Regions from separate parts of the Homo sapiens genome. Here region 2 is linked to region 1. The links are contacts of gene promoters, found by promoter capture Hi-C in human tissues and cell types (Jung and others, 2019). All regions are on one chromosome and are shown on one strand. The core of a region is centred on a gene start or on the middle of the fragment in contact, and the rest is flanking DNA. Distances in the headings are between cores, read along the strand shown.

Region 1 (7,327 bases), core at 139-2,638:
TCAGGACACGCTTCCCGCCCAAAGTACCCAGAGCTCACGCCCACGCCCGCATCCAGCCCTCAGCGTGCGCAGGCCGACCCACGCCCCACGACACTTGTCCCGACGCACCAGCTTCGCTGCCGGCTCCCCTCCTGGAGACGCATCTACCTTCTCTCCATGGGGCCCCCGACACCTCCGCCAACCCGCGCTCTGAGCCAGCTCAACCTCCCCTGGGCGTCAAGAGCCTGGAGCGCCCACCCTCCTGCCCTCTCCCCGCTGCCTCTCAGATCCCGGCAGCGCTGCAAGAGTCTACAAGAGCTCGTTAGTTGCAGGCAGGAGGAACGCGGGCGAGTGGAGAGGCGCCTTGCGAAAGGATTTAACGTCGGGGCTCCGGGAGAGTTGGTAAGAAAGGATGAGGATGATGATCTATCTGCCTTCAACTCTTCGAAAGCGGATCAAATCTTCCAATCCCGATTTTGGAACCTCGGGGCTGTTTCCCGAAGTACTAAAGACAGAGGGACGAGGGTATGAGAGCGGCGCCCTCTCCTCTCGCCTGCACGCCCCTCCACAAATGAGCCCTGGCTCCCCTCTGTACCCTCCAAACTTCCCTCTCCCATGCTCACCCCGTGAGCCGCCCTCGCGGCGGGGTTGGGGGCGCAGCCCCAGACCGCTGTGGGGTCCCCAGGCGTGGGAGAGCCGGCGCGGCCCGGGTCCGGGGTGCTGGTTGCTGCTGGCCCAGGGGAGTGCTTCTCCGGGTCTGCGCAGGTGGCTGGACACGCCGCGACTGCTGCGCGCGGGACGGCCTCCTGGCCTCCGCCTCGGTGGGCCTCCTGGGGCTCCCCCAGCCCGGCTGGGCCCGCTCCACGGGCTGCAAGCCCGCGACAGGCGCGTCCTGCTCCCGGAACAGACTGTACACCTTGGCTGCAGCCGCTGCCGGGTAGCTGCCCCCAGGGCGCCGCAGTCGATTCGCGTCTCCACCAGCCGGCTCGTATCTCCCTACGGGGTCCCTTTGGGCATGACCCGCGCCCACGAAGAGAGCCAGGGTGAGCGGCAGGAAGCCTCTCCAGGGGTTCCGCAGGGCGCGCCCCGGGCTGCGGGCTTTGGTCCGCGGCCTCATGGCGCGGGGCGGCTGGAGAGTGGTGCGCGCGGGCACCGCGAAGAGCTTTGTGGTCGGCACGCTGGACGCCCGCGGGCTGTTCTCCCGGCCCCGCCCGGCGGCCAGCTTCTCTGAGTCTAGGGGGCCCTGAAGCGGCCGACTGGGGGCCCGGCTCTCGGCGGAACGAGGGCTGCGCGCCCCGAGCCTCGAGTCCGCGCTCCTACTCCAGCTGGGCTCGCACGGCTGCTGCACCTTCGCGCCTCCTCCCTGTGCCTGCAGCCGTCTGAAGGGGACCCGGACGGTTTTATTTTTGGAAACCTCCCCCGGCTTTTTCGTCTCTTTTATCCACACCAGGCCCCCTCCTCGGAGGGACAGCTCAGCCCCCTCATTACCGGAGAGGGAGCGAGGAATTCCAGCAACACCCACTTTGGCACCGGGAAGCCAGCGGGCGGCGAGCGGGCGGCGAGGGGGATTAACCCGTGCGGAGCAGGGGGCGGCGCGGGGCTGACCCAGGCGCTGGTCGGGCAGATGGCGCCTGCCACGACCGGGACACTGGGCCGCCTTTCTCCTGCTCTGGGCAAGTTCGAACTGCAGACCTGCCCCGAATCGTTCTCCCGCCCCTCGCCTCAGGGACCGTCTTTGGATCGGGGGACCCAGGCTGCAGCCTTGCAGGTCTGAAGGAAGCCGGGAGGGGCGCCGAGGCCCGCGTAGGGGAACAGGGCCGCCGCCCCCTCCGCTTGCGCCCTGGCCGCTGGGGGCGCCCTCCGCAGGGCCGGCCGGAGCGGGGGTGGCGCGGGGCGGGGCGCGGCGCGCGGAGCGCAGGGAGGTCCCGGGCGCGCCCCCTGGCGGAGCTGGCGGCCCTGGCGCTCCGTGGCTGCAATGCCCTGGCGCCGCCGCCTTCGCTCTGGATCTCAATCCCCTTCCACTGGCGTGAGGGTCACGCCTGAGCCTGGCGCGGTGATGGCTGCCGGTAGAAGAGGGGTCCTCTTTTTCTTTTTCTTTTTCTTTTCTTTCTTTCTTTCTTTCTTTTTTTTGAGACGGAGTTTCGCTCTTGTTGCCCAGGCTGGAGTGCAATGGTGCGATCTCAGCTCCCCGCAACCTCCGCCTCCCGGGTTCAAGCGATTCCCCTGCCTCAGCCTCCCTAGTAGCTGGGATTACAGGCATGCGCCACCAAGTCTGACTAATTTTGTATATTATTTTATTTTTTAGTACAGACGGGGTTTCTCCATGTTGGTCAGGCTGGTCTCGAACTCCCAACCTCAGGTGATCCGCCCGCCTCGGCCTCCCAAAGTGCTGGGATTAAAGGCGTGAGCCACCACGCCCGGCCAAGGGGTCCTCTTTTTCACCGAGGCAAAGACACGGAGCCTCTTGAGTAAGTCACTCAAGGAGATAGCGCATGTGAAAGAGGGGAGTGGAATCTAGGCCTCCCGCCTCTGGCTGAATCCATTCCCGGGATCCCACCCAGCCCTTCACTCTCTCGGGAATTTCCCAGAGGGGGATTCGGTGACCCCGATTGACCCAGTGTGTGCATTCACATCTTGTGTTAGCAGGGAGGCGGGCAGGGGTGTGGGAATGCTGACTGCCGCTGTCTGCGTGTCCCCAGTAATCAGCACACCATTCTCACCCATGCTCCCTCCCTACAGCCTAAAGGCTTGGATCAACAGGGCTGCCCCTGGCACATTTGTACAGCCTATTTCCCAGAGAGGCAGAGTGAAGGAGCTGGCATGTGGGCACCAGTTCACAACCTCCCACACCACACAAAAGACAAGCCCAGGTAATATCTACTGTTGAAATAAAGCCTCGACCCCTGGCCTTGGCCTACAAACCCTAGCTGGCTGCCCCCGCTCTGATTTCATCTGGCCTCTTGCTCTCCCTTACCCACCACACTGTGCTGCCTTGGCCCTCTCTCTGCTCCTTGAACAAGCCAAGTGAATGCCCCCTTCCCTCTACTGGAAGGTTCCTCTCCAGGATGTTAGAGGGTAGTTCCTCATCACTGCTCCTCTCAGATTAAATATCAGCTCCTGGAGTAGCCATCCCTGACCTCCAATCTAGAGCAGCCCTCCCTCACCCCAGTCATGACTCTAACACACCACCCTGTTTCATCTTCATAAAACAGTTGACATCATCTTGTTATTGATTTGTTTGCTCGTGTAACTGAATTTTTTAATGGGCTGAACCTAAAGAGGGACTATCCAGAAACTGCTCCACTACTACCTTCAACCATATTATGGTAAATTTCCCTTTCCCACCCTTAATGACATCTCAGGCAGAGTCCTTGGCTTGAGAGGTCATCCCTACCAGACACGAGAACTATTCTATTAATATAATTAAGACCCATTTTCAGACACAAAAAGTCTGCTCCTGTCCAGATCAAAATCTCATCCAAGTTAATCAATATCACATCCCATTTAATAGTCCTCCTCTCCCCTGTCCCTTTGCTAGAGATCCTGCAGTGGTGAGAGTGGGGTGTGGTCTGTTTTCCTGACCTCCCTTTTCTGCTGTGGCTCCTCTTTGTCAAGGCTGGGAGAGAGGTGTTAGAGGAAAAGTAGCAAAGTCTTATGTGACAGGTACCCTTGGTTGGCAGGTGCCAAGCGCTGGCTTTTTCATGGGCACATATGTGGGTTTTTGGGAGGTTCTCTACAGGACCTCCACCCTGAGTTGCCATAGCAAATTACTCTCTGGCCAACCTCTCGGAGACCCCTGCATCCTCTGTCTCTCATAGGACTGTCCCACCTATGCCAGGCAAAACAATGGTGGGTTGGCCGCTCCTCACCCTGCCCACTTCTCACCTTGCCACACAGGCCACTCCAGCGAGGCTCCACGATCAGAATTCTCCAGACAGGAAGTGCACACAAGTCTCTTCATTTATGTACGTCCTCAATTCCTAAAGACATATGTTGGGTTCTCCCATGAACTGTCTTGCTGTAGTTTAATGCACCGAGGTGCCTGTAACATCCAGCAACATAGTCAGCATCAGTGGGGGGACAGTTATAGGGACAGAGCCTCCTCTTCTTGCAGATGACTGGTTCTCTCTGGGAGCTCCCTTCATTTGGTTTGAGTTGGGGAGTTCCCTCAGGGGAAATCTCAGCCCTGCCCACAAATGCAGCAGTGTTATGCTTCAGTGACTTTCTTCAATCCCTTTCATTTGTAGACTGGAATTGAGGGATGTAGTTTGATTGCTGTTGAACCTGTTCTGCCTTTAGTAAGGTGTCTAGTACTTCTCTTCAGAATGCAAGAATATTTAGCCCTCATTGTTCTATCTTTGTGGCTTCAGCAGATATTCCAAGAGCAGAGGAAAAGTCCTATTCAACAACCTATAAAATCATTTCTTGTCTGACTTCCCAAACCACAATGACAGCTCTAAAGCAACAGATATCTTGTCTGCGTTGCTCACCACTGTTTCTGCAGAACCTAGAACAGCCAAGAAGTATGTGTGAAATGGATAGCTAACTGAATGAAGGACACAGTAATCCCATCAAGTGGGGAGGGCTGGTATCATTAGACCCATTTTAAGAGAGAGGAACTGAGTTCTGGGTGGCAGCTCCTGATCCAGGTTCATGTGCTTGCTGCCTTTGGGGCTGGCTCTAAAGATCTCCTTGAACCCTACCCCTTGCATTTGACCATGAATGCCCCTTAGTTCCCAGAATGCTGCGTTCTGTTCCTGGGATGCTGCTCCTTCACAGCTGTGGAAGCCCCAGGTCCACACTTACCTCTCCTTGCCCAGATATCCACCCACCTCTGTAGTTCTGGGCTCCCTTCCTCTCCCCGGAACCTACCCACTTCCTTCAGAAGCTCCCCTCTAGATCCCTCAAGACCCACCTCAGATCCCCGTGGGCCTCCAAAAGCCAGAAACCTTGGCATCATCTTCGTCCCTGAGCTATTTTTTCCTCCTGTGTGTCCAAGTCATTATTACTGCTCCGTCTCCTCCGTCTGCATTTCTGGAAGTCTGCCGCCCATTCATCCCTCACCCTTCGCCTCCGCCAAAACCCTCACGCAGACCAACTTTCCCTCACCATCGGGCGCCCCTTCCACTCCTCAGTGAGTACAAGTGGTCCTTGGACGTTCCCACCCTGTTCGCCTGGGGACCATAACCCAGTTCATCTACTCCAAAGACTGGCATCTTCTACCCCATCCCGGCGCCACACTCTGTCCTGCCACCTACTTACTGCCCATATCTCCCTTACCCTCTAACTGCTGGGACTGATTGCAGCTCTTCAGAATCTCCAATCCCACAAACACTTGAGTTTTGCTTTTTTTTTTTAACCTGCCAAAATCGATAGAGCCTACTTTAGTCCAAACGCCATACTAAGCATGTTACATCAATTGGCTGATTTAACCAACCAAAGGAGGCATTATGATTTCCACGCATACAAAGGAGGAAACTGAGGTTGGCAATGGCTACTGGCTTGCCCAAGATGGCACAGCTGATAAATAGCAGAGGCAGGATTCAAACCTGGATCATTTTCCACCTGAGCCCAAGCTTTTAAGGTTACACCGCCTTGCCTCCACCCCGGGCTTGTAAGCCTGGAGCCCTCTTCACAATTGAATCATGACCTTTCCAACCACCCCACCACTATCACCACCAAAGGAGCTCTAGGGCATATCCCCAAATGCCCTCTTCCCTGCCTGCCAGCCCACTGTTCATGTACCTGGAGCTCATGTACCTGGAGATGTGGAGTTATCAGAACTTTCTGCCACCCTTAATCCTCTTGGCCCAGTGAAAGAAGGGAAGCTGTTTCAGCATGGCCGCTGACTCACCGTGTGTCACTTCCCCACCCCCTGATTAAAGCCTTCTCCCTCATTAGATCGCTGCTAAGCCTACTCACCCATCTCTTGGGTCTGGAGAGGAAAATCATCTCTGGAAAACCCGGCAGAGAGAGTCTAAAGGGTTGATAAAGAGATTCCAGCAGGGAAAGGTTTGCCCAGACACATGCCCCATGCAAGGGACAGCAGTCTCCTGGACTCCCAGGGCAAACTCACTGCTTTTCCATGTCTCACTGGAATAATGTTGGCAGCCAGAGGTCTACCAGAACCTGAGCTAATTTGGTAAATAAGGACCAAAAACAAGGGCCACATTTCGGCCCCCTTTGCTGAGACCCAGACTCCTGAAAGAATTCCAGGGATTTTTCTTGCTTGGAAGTAACTGGACCTCCAGCCCTGAATTCCTCTCCCCAGGAGAGCTTGTTCCCCTGCTCAGAACAAATAACACATTTCCTGGTTAATCAGAGGGCAGAATCGCTGAAGGAAAGTTTGACTGGGCCCCCAGCCTTCCAGACGGGAGCCGCTCATGGGCTTGGATGTTCTGCTCCAGACACTGGGCAGCTGGGACCCCAGCACTGCGCAGCCTCAGCCTCCAGTTTGGAAGGTGCAGGCCGTACAGAGAGGTGCCGACTCCCTCCTGTGTGAGGTTGTTAAGGCCCGCAAAGGCTGCCAGAACCATTCCACCTTAGGTGCCATGACCTGGCGTCCCCTCAAGAATTCACAACCACCCTGCCCTGGTCTGCCGGTGCCTGTCTCCTCCAAGTGGGTATGACATGCTGGCTGGTGGTGATAGCCATGGTATGGATGTTCCTGCAAAGGTAAGGTGAGCTGGCCTGTATTTCAGAGTGTGCTGGAAAGGGCCCTCCCACAAACATGTGGTGAACATTTACGTCTTCTGTGAGCGGAGCACAGTTCTGAGCTCATTTCCGTCTTCTGTGAATGCAGCACAGTTCTGAGCTTCATTTGGCTTCTACTTTCTTATCTGAAAGTTGAGATAATGATGTTCTTTTTGCCATTTTTCTCTTCAGGACAAACTAGCTAGCCAGCCCTGTTTACCCTGTCATGGGGCTAGGGGCAGGTGTCAATTACTACTCCTCCATTTACCAACTGATATTTCATTTATTGTTTGTTTGTTTGTTTGAGACAGGGTCTCACTCTGTCACCCAGGCTGGAGTGCAGTGGCACAATCTCGGCTCACTGCAGCATCCACCTCCTGGGTTCAAGCAATCCTCCAGCTTCAGCCCCCCAAGTAGCTGGGACTGTAGGTGCACGCCACCAAGCCTGGCTAATTTGTATTTTTTGTAGAGACGGGGTTTTGCCATTTTGCCCAGGCTGGTCTTGAACCCCTGGACTCAAGTGATCCTCCCGTCTCGGCCTCCTAAAGTGTTGGGATTATAGGTGTGAGCCACCACATCCAGCCTTGGTATTTCTTGAGCACTCAGAAGGTACCAGGCACTGTGCCAAGTCATCTTATAGTCACTTCCTTGTTTA
Region 2 (7,327 bases), core at 3,165-5,664, 210 kb before region 1:
TAAGACCTAGGAGTCTCTTTCTCGTGGAGTTTGCATTCCAAACAGGGGAAGGCTGACCAACAGACCGGTAAGCAAATGTCAGGAAGGAAGGGAGCTATGAAGAAAAATGAAACAGGTCAGGGGATAGGAGCAGGGTGGTTACTTAAGGCAGGCCTGTCTGGGATGGCCTGGAGGAGGTGATGTTGGAGTGAGCAATGCAGATATGGCAGACACTGGGAGAAGGCTGTTTCTGGAGGAAGGACCAGGACCGGCCAGTGCAAAAGCCCAGGCAGGGGCATGCTTGGTGTGCACAAGGACCAGCATAGAGGCCATCCCCACTGGCCTCACTTCTGCAGAAAAGAGATGCTTTCTGCTGTGGAGAACATAGTAGACTGTTTTATGCTTACCAGATGCTCAGTCAGTATTTAATTGATGCTTAATCATGGAAGGAAGTTGGGAGTCTGGGCAGAGCCTGGGCAGGGGCCGGAGCTGGCTGGTGGAAAGGGAGAGGGCAGCTCCCCATCCTACTCGGCCTGGCCCCTGGCTGGGGAGCTCTGAGGCATCCCAGGTAGACTCCTGGGAGCAGGGGCGAGGGAGGCAGGGAGTGTTCAAGTAGCACCAGGTCCAGCAGCTCTGCCAGGATGAGGATCCTTAATTGGCTTCTTGGAGTGTGGAATCCTCCACATCCCGCCCCTGGGAGATGGTGCAGCTGGAGAAGGCTGCTCATCACCCCTCTACCTGCAGGCTGTGGGAGTGTGAAAAGAGTGGATTTGGAGCCTGTAGGGGGCCTGGAGGGGGCTTTGAGTTAAGGGGGCCAGCTGTGTTGGGCAGAGGGCTGGTGAGTAATGAGATGTTTCCCTGCTCACATAACCAGACACAGCTCCTGCCCAGGTTGAGGTAAAGAAGAAAGTGAAGAATTATTTCAGGTAGGAGTGGAAGCTGGTCCCTGCACCTGAGTTTTTCTGCCATTTTCAGACTCTTCCTTACTGGAAGATGGGGTTTGAGGAGCAGAGGGTTAATCTGGAGACTGAAGACCTCGTAATGAATTCTAAGGCGCCCCACTTCCTTGCTAGTTGGGCAATTTAACTTACCTCTCCGAGCCTCAGTTTTATGGTCTATAAAATGTGGGCTAATTCAAAAAAGAATAAGCACAGTAGCTGGCATATGGTGGCACTTTGGAATCCAAGTCTAAAACTCTGAAGTCTCCTTTCATTGCCTGCTCGTGGTTTATCCAATGTAAGCAGGCAGCTATCCACAGGAAACCTCTGGCTCCAGCACATCCCTCCAGCTATCCTGAGCAACACACAGTTCCCCTGCATGGGCAGGGTGGCAAATGGCCTGTCTCCTGGGCAGAGGCCTGCACAGTGGGAAGGGTATGGCAGCCAGGACCTGCACTCATGCCACTGACACACATCTCTAGCTGGATACTGGCTGTCATCCCCAACTCAGGGACCAACCCCCTCCCCAGGTCCTGGTGGTCCTGTTTCCCAGGATCCCTGCTCCCTCTCTAGGTGTCTGTTCTGGGTCCCTATGGGATGTGGGTTCCTATGGCTCTGTCCTCTTCGTAGAAAACCAAAGGCTATTTCTGGTCATCACCATCCACTGGCTGGCTTCACGAGTGCTAGGCAGTTTTGCTGGCCTTCTTTAGGTTGCAGGGAGCGGCTATTCCTTAAAACACACATTCCTCTCTCCATGACCCTCACCCTGCCCAGTGTCATTTAGGAAGGGAATAGGAAAGAGGCAATGGGGGAAGTGAGGAGGGCAGAGAGAAACAGATCAGTGGCATCAGGCTTGAGGGTTGGGATGGGGTCATGACCAAGGTGCCTGAACTGTGGAGGAGGATGACCTGTGCTCAAATTCCCCTTGCTAGCTGGGTTTAGATTCCAACTTCCACCTATTCGCTGTGTGACAAAGGGCAAGTTACTTTACCTTTCTGGACCTCAGTTTCCTTATCCCTAAAGCAGGGATCTCAATAGAACCAGCCTCCTAGGGATATTCCAAGGGTTCACTGAGTAATATTTGTAAAGTGCTTAGAACAAGGTTTGGCACAGAGTAAATACTCTATATCTTTTTATTATGATGCTTCAATTTATGTAGTTGATTTTACGAGTCTTTGACAGTCCTTTTGTTTTTGTTTGCTTAAGCTGTCACCTACCTGGGCACAGGAGTTATAATGTGAGAAGTCAGACATTAGTCTGATACTCAGAGAAATAAACGCACAATTACAGCTGGAACCTGGGCTTTGAAGAAGGAGAACATGGGGCTCAAAGATGTTCAATCATGGGGATAGACCTGGCCAGGCTGGGGAGAAGAGGGCTTCCCAGAGGAAGTGCCTTTAGAACCAAGGCAGGAAGGATGAATAGGAGCTAATTAGTCCAAGAAGGAAAGGAAAAGTATTTCAGGCAGAAGAAGTTGCATATGCAAAGGCCCTGCAAGTGTGAAGGGCTGAAGGAAGGCAGACATGGTGAGGTGCAGGGAGCTTGGGTTGTGGTGTGAAGTGGCAGGGGCTCATAAGCAGGTTAGTTTGGTTTTTTATCTAAGAGAAATAGATGTCCTTTGAAAGCTTTAATCAAGGGAGGATGACTCGACCAAATTTGCCTTCAGGAAAATTCAATGTAGCTAAAAAGAGGCCAGGGAGGAGGCAGGGAGAACATTTCAGAGGGTTGCTTTTTTTTCCTCCCCGCATTAAAATCATCCTCGAAAAGAGACTGGGCAGATTTATAATAGCATTAGAATATTTAAAACATGTAATACATTTGTTTAACTTCAAACACATTTCAGCATTCTCAACATACAAAAAATAACAGAACATTACAAATCGTGTTTAAATACAGACGGTTCTTGAACTTTCATTGACGTGATGTCTCTTGCTTTGCTGATAATGAGGAGTTCTACAGTTTGTTTAAAAACAGTTTTCTGCTGGGCGTGGTGGCTCATGCCTATAATCCTAGCACTTTGAGAGGCCGAGGTGGGCAAAGTGGGTGGATCACTTGAGCCCAGGTGTTCGAGACCAGCCTGGGCAACATGACAAAACCCTGTCTCTACAAAAAAATACAAAAATTAGCCTGGCATGGTGGCAGGTGCCTGTAGTCCCAGCTACTCAGGAGGCTGAGGTGGGAGGATCACCTGAGTCCAGGGGGTTAAAGCTGCAGTGAGTCGAGGTCACGCCACTGCACTCCAGCCTGGGTAACAGAGTGAGACCCTGTTTCAAAAAAAAAAAAAAAAGTTTAAAAATTACCACACTTAACTAAAACAAACAAACTAAACCCCCCAAACACTTCTCATGCCGGCTGACCCTCTTTGTCCACAGCTAAGAATGGCAGCAGAATGCTCCGTCACTATATGCAGAAACAAGACAACTTGAAGCTAAATGGAAGCCCTGCAGAGTCAACAGGTCCAGATTCACAGTGCACGCCCTGAGCTACAGCCCCTCCAAAAGGCATCTTCCCCCAGAGCCTCAATGCCAAGCAAGGAGCCGTCAAGAGTCTGCCTTGGTTGTTTTGTTCTTTTTACAAACCGTACAGATATACAATTGATAACTCAGGATTTCTAGTCAATAACCAGATAGTTAACACCACCTTATTAAAAAAAAAAAAGCCAGAAACATCTTTAAATGCCTTGTCACTCCAATAGCAAAGCGCACAGAATGAGAACACAAGAGTGCCTTTTCATTTTAAAAATGTTTGGAAATATGTACAACTTTGATAGCATTTCAGAGTGCACCAGACACCACTGCCGCTTCATGTATACCACTGACAATTTCTAGAGCACTTTGAGAGGCTACAATATGATCATGATCAAATTTTGTAATTAAACCTGATAAGGGCAACAGACACTACTTCTCAAATAAGAGATGTGTCAATTACAGCGCTCCCCTACTCTAAGGCAGGGGTGTCCGATCTTTTGGCTTCCCCGGGCCACACTAGAAGAAGAATTGCCTTAGGCCACACATGAAATACACTAATAATAACGATAGCTGATGAGCTAAACACACGTGCGTGCACACACACACACACTGACACACACTTCATAATGTTTCAAGAAAGTTTACGAATTTGTGTTGGGCAGCATTCAAAGCTGTCCTGGGCTGTGTAGGCTACAGGTTGGACAAGCTTGCTCTAAGGTACTTACAAGGAAACAGATAAACTATGTTTAAAATTTCTTGCCAGGTGTGGTGGCTCACGCCTGTAATTCCAGCACTTCAGGACTTTGGGAGGCCGAGGTGGGGGGATCACTTGAGGTTGGGAATTCGAGACCAGCCTGGCCAACATGGCGAAACCCCGTCTCTACTGAAAATACAAAAATTAGCTGAGTGTGGTGGCATGCGCCTTTAGTCCTAGCTACTTGGGAGGCTGATGCATGAGAATCACTTGAATCTGGGAGGCAGAGGTTGCAGTGAGCAGAGATTGTGCCACTGTACTCCAGCCTGGGAGACAGAGCAAGATTCTGTCTCAAAACAAAACAAAACAAACACATAGCATAAAATTTACCATCTTACCCATTTTAAGTGTACGGTTCAGTACAATTAAGTACATGCATGTTGTTTTGCAACAGATCTCTAGAACTTTCTCAATTTGCAAAGCTGACACTCTATGCCCATTAAACAAATCCCAGTTTTTCCCTCCCCCAGCTCCTGGCAATCACCATTCTTCTTTCTCTTTCTAGGAATGTGACTACCCGAGGTACCTCACATAAATGGAATCATCCAGTATTTGTTCTTTGGAGACTGGCTTATTTCACTTAGCCTGATCTCCTTAAAGTTCATCCATGTTGCATCATGTGATAGGTCATTTAGGAGGTTTTGCAGGAGTCTGAGTAAGAGCTGATGGGGGCTTGGACTAGGGCTTGGAGATAGAGATAGCAGGAAATAGAGTCGGGGAGATTGGGGAGTGGTAGAGTCACAGGACTTGGTGAAGGATGGGAAAGTGCTCCTGTTTCTGGCCTTGGTCTTCAGAGGTGACTGTGGACAGGCCAGTGGTACCCAGACTTGTAGGCTCCTTTGGACAATGGGGGTTGGGGGTGACCCAGGGGCTAAGTTGGGTGCAGAGGAAACCAAGGAAGAACCTCTTCTCTATCCTCAGCCCACAGCCTGGGGGAGACCAGAGGAGGAGAGCAGTGAGCAGCTGCTCTGGCTTCTTTGTTCCCCTTGTTTATTCTTCCTACAGAGCACAGACCTTGCAGCACCAGAAGGGTGGTCTTTATGGCATCCCTGATGAAAGAGGGGAGGAGGTGGGTAAAGTTCTGTGCTGTGTCCCTTTGCAGATACCACCAGGCTGGGCACCCCACGGGCTCATACTGCTCTTTCTGGTCTCTTTGATCGTCCTCGGAATTGTAAAGTCCTTGCCACCTAGAGACTTCCTCCCTGCTCCCATCTACCCCAAGATGTGGATGATTTTCCCATTGAAGAGGAAATTAAAGTGGAAAGAACCTTGCCCCGACTCCCTCCAGCCTGGAGGCAAGTCACTTCTTTCCCAGTGATGTCAACAGTGAACAAGGGTCGAGTGTCTGTGGAAGGCAGTCCCCACGTCAGACCTGGGATGCCCTGAGCAAACACGAGCTCCACCCTCAGAAAAGCAGATGTCTAGATGTGGCCGTCATGTCGATATGAACAGGTGTAGCGGTGGTTCACGAAAGAGGGTGGCTAGTTCTACCTGGTGTTGGGGCTGGGGTGAGTTGACAGAAACAGCTGCCGAGAAAATGAGGTTTTCTTGAGACGTGTCTTGGAAAATTATTTTTATCAGTTTGGAGGAAAAGAATCTCAGGGTGTGGAGGCAGATACCAGAATTACAGGCAGGGGGAGCAGCCTAAACAAAGGCAGCGAGACGGGAAACAGGCCCTGCCTTCAGCTTGCTGCCAGCCGAGATCTGCCCAGAGACCAGCAGGGACCAGAGCTATCAGGACTTTGGCTATTATCTCTGGCTATGGAAGGGATGGGGCTGAGGGAGGTGACACACTTCTGGCAGGGAAGCCATTTAAATGGTGGTCAGCTGGAGATAATTTTAAAGAAATTCCATATAGCACTTACGAGACACTCAATTTTGCGGGAGCCATACAAGTGTTAATTCATGTAATATTCACAGTCATCTTAACGGGGTCAGTCACCATCACGATCCCCGTTTTCCAGATGAGAAAACACCAAGCAACATCTTACCCGAAGTTGCACAGAGGCTGGGGATGGGATTTGAACTGGGTGGTGGGCTCCCCTCTTCTCTGCTGTTAACCACTGGGCTGTGCTCTGGGCCAGCCAGCTCTGAGCGCAAGTGTTAGGGACAGGGCTGGCGGAGGTTAATGAGGGAAAATGGCCAGGAGTTGGCTTCAGGAAGGGAGGCAGTGGGTGAGGGTGGAGCCACAGCAGGCTCCCAGAGGACGAGGCACCATTCACTGATCTGTGGAACTGGGAAAGGCCTCGAGGTCCTCAGTCTTCCTGTCTGTGAAATGGGGACAAGAACACCAGCCTCAGTGGTAGAAAGAGTGGTGTGAAGGTCCTTTGTGCACCCAGGGTGCTCTGTCAACGTAGCCTGGCCCTGCTGCCTCACCCCAGCCCTGCCCACTGGTGCAAGCACACTCACTGTCCCCTTTGTCCCCTTCTGGCTGCCTCTGAGGGATCCTGCCCCCTGGGAGTTTCTTTCTCTGTCATTTCCTGGAGGAGCTAGAACTGGCTTTGAAACCTGCCTGGCTCTTTAGTGGGAGAGAGGTAAAAGCAGTTCAAGGGATGTGGGCTGGAAGTATTTGGAAATGCAGATGGGCCACACGAGCACCTTTTATTTTTGTTCAGAACATCTGAGTCTCCCCGTGGGGACTCCCCCGCCCAGAGTAGCTCCTCCCCCCATGGCAGAGAGGATGAGAGAGCACCCGGGGGCTGCCATGAGCTCAGGGCAGGCAAAAGCAAGGCTGTCGCTCTCCTGCCCCACCCCTACCAAGCCACCAAAAATAGAAGGGCCAAGGTGTCAGCCCCAGGGAGGGGCCAGCCGGGGAAGCCTTTGAAGCCGGAAACAGCCGGGGAAGGAAGGCTGAGAGAAGCAAGTTTGTTAATATTCACTGGGCAGCAGCGGCAGTTGTCCCTGGGTTTTCTGTTTCCAAGGCAAGCAGACATCACCAGCCTAGCTCAGCAACTCCAGGGCCTGTGAGGCAAGGCCTGGGCTTGGCTCGTGACTTGCTGTGTGACACTGGGCAACTGGCAACCCTTTCTGGGTCTCTGTTGTCTCATCTGTAGCATGAGGGATTGTGACTAGATCACCTCCCGGGTTCCTTCCTGCTGCAGCGTTCCAGGACTCACACCTTTGGCCACTGACCCCTGCCCCACCTTCTGAGTGGGGTTCAGGGACTGTGCTGAGTCTGTCTCTGGGAA

The links. Contacts are between HindIII fragments. The study calls those that stand out against the background at their distance.
Region 2: a fragment that was not itself captured here is called in contact with the fragment with the promoter of LTBP2 in region 1 in 1 of the 25 tissues and cell types used here (IMR-90 fibroblasts).

The regions. Positions count from the first base shown.
Region 1 is chr14:74,610,849-74,618,175 of GRCh38, forward strand. It overlaps LTBP2 (latent transforming growth factor beta binding protein 2), which reads right to left and starts at 1,389. Exons shown (of 36, transcript NM_000428.3): 1 at 603-1,389. The coding sequence starts at 1,096. It overlaps LOC101928352 (a long non-coding RNA gene), which reads left to right and starts at 2,337. Exons shown (of 2, transcript XR_944029.4): 1 at 2,337-2,447; 2 at 2,719-3,200. RefSeq lists enhancers at 1,445-2,072, 6,681-7,327 and a silencer at 1,700-2,019. The HindIII fragment of the contact is 13,991 bases long and covers 1-7,327 here.
Region 2 is chr14:74,394,712-74,402,038 of GRCh38, forward strand. No RefSeq gene overlaps it. Among named protein-coding and RNA genes, the nearest start is that of SYNDIG1L, 28 kb to the right of the region's middle. RefSeq lists enhancers at 477-977, 6,841-7,327, 6,968-7,297. The HindIII fragment of the contact is 6,963 bases long and covers 934-7,327 here.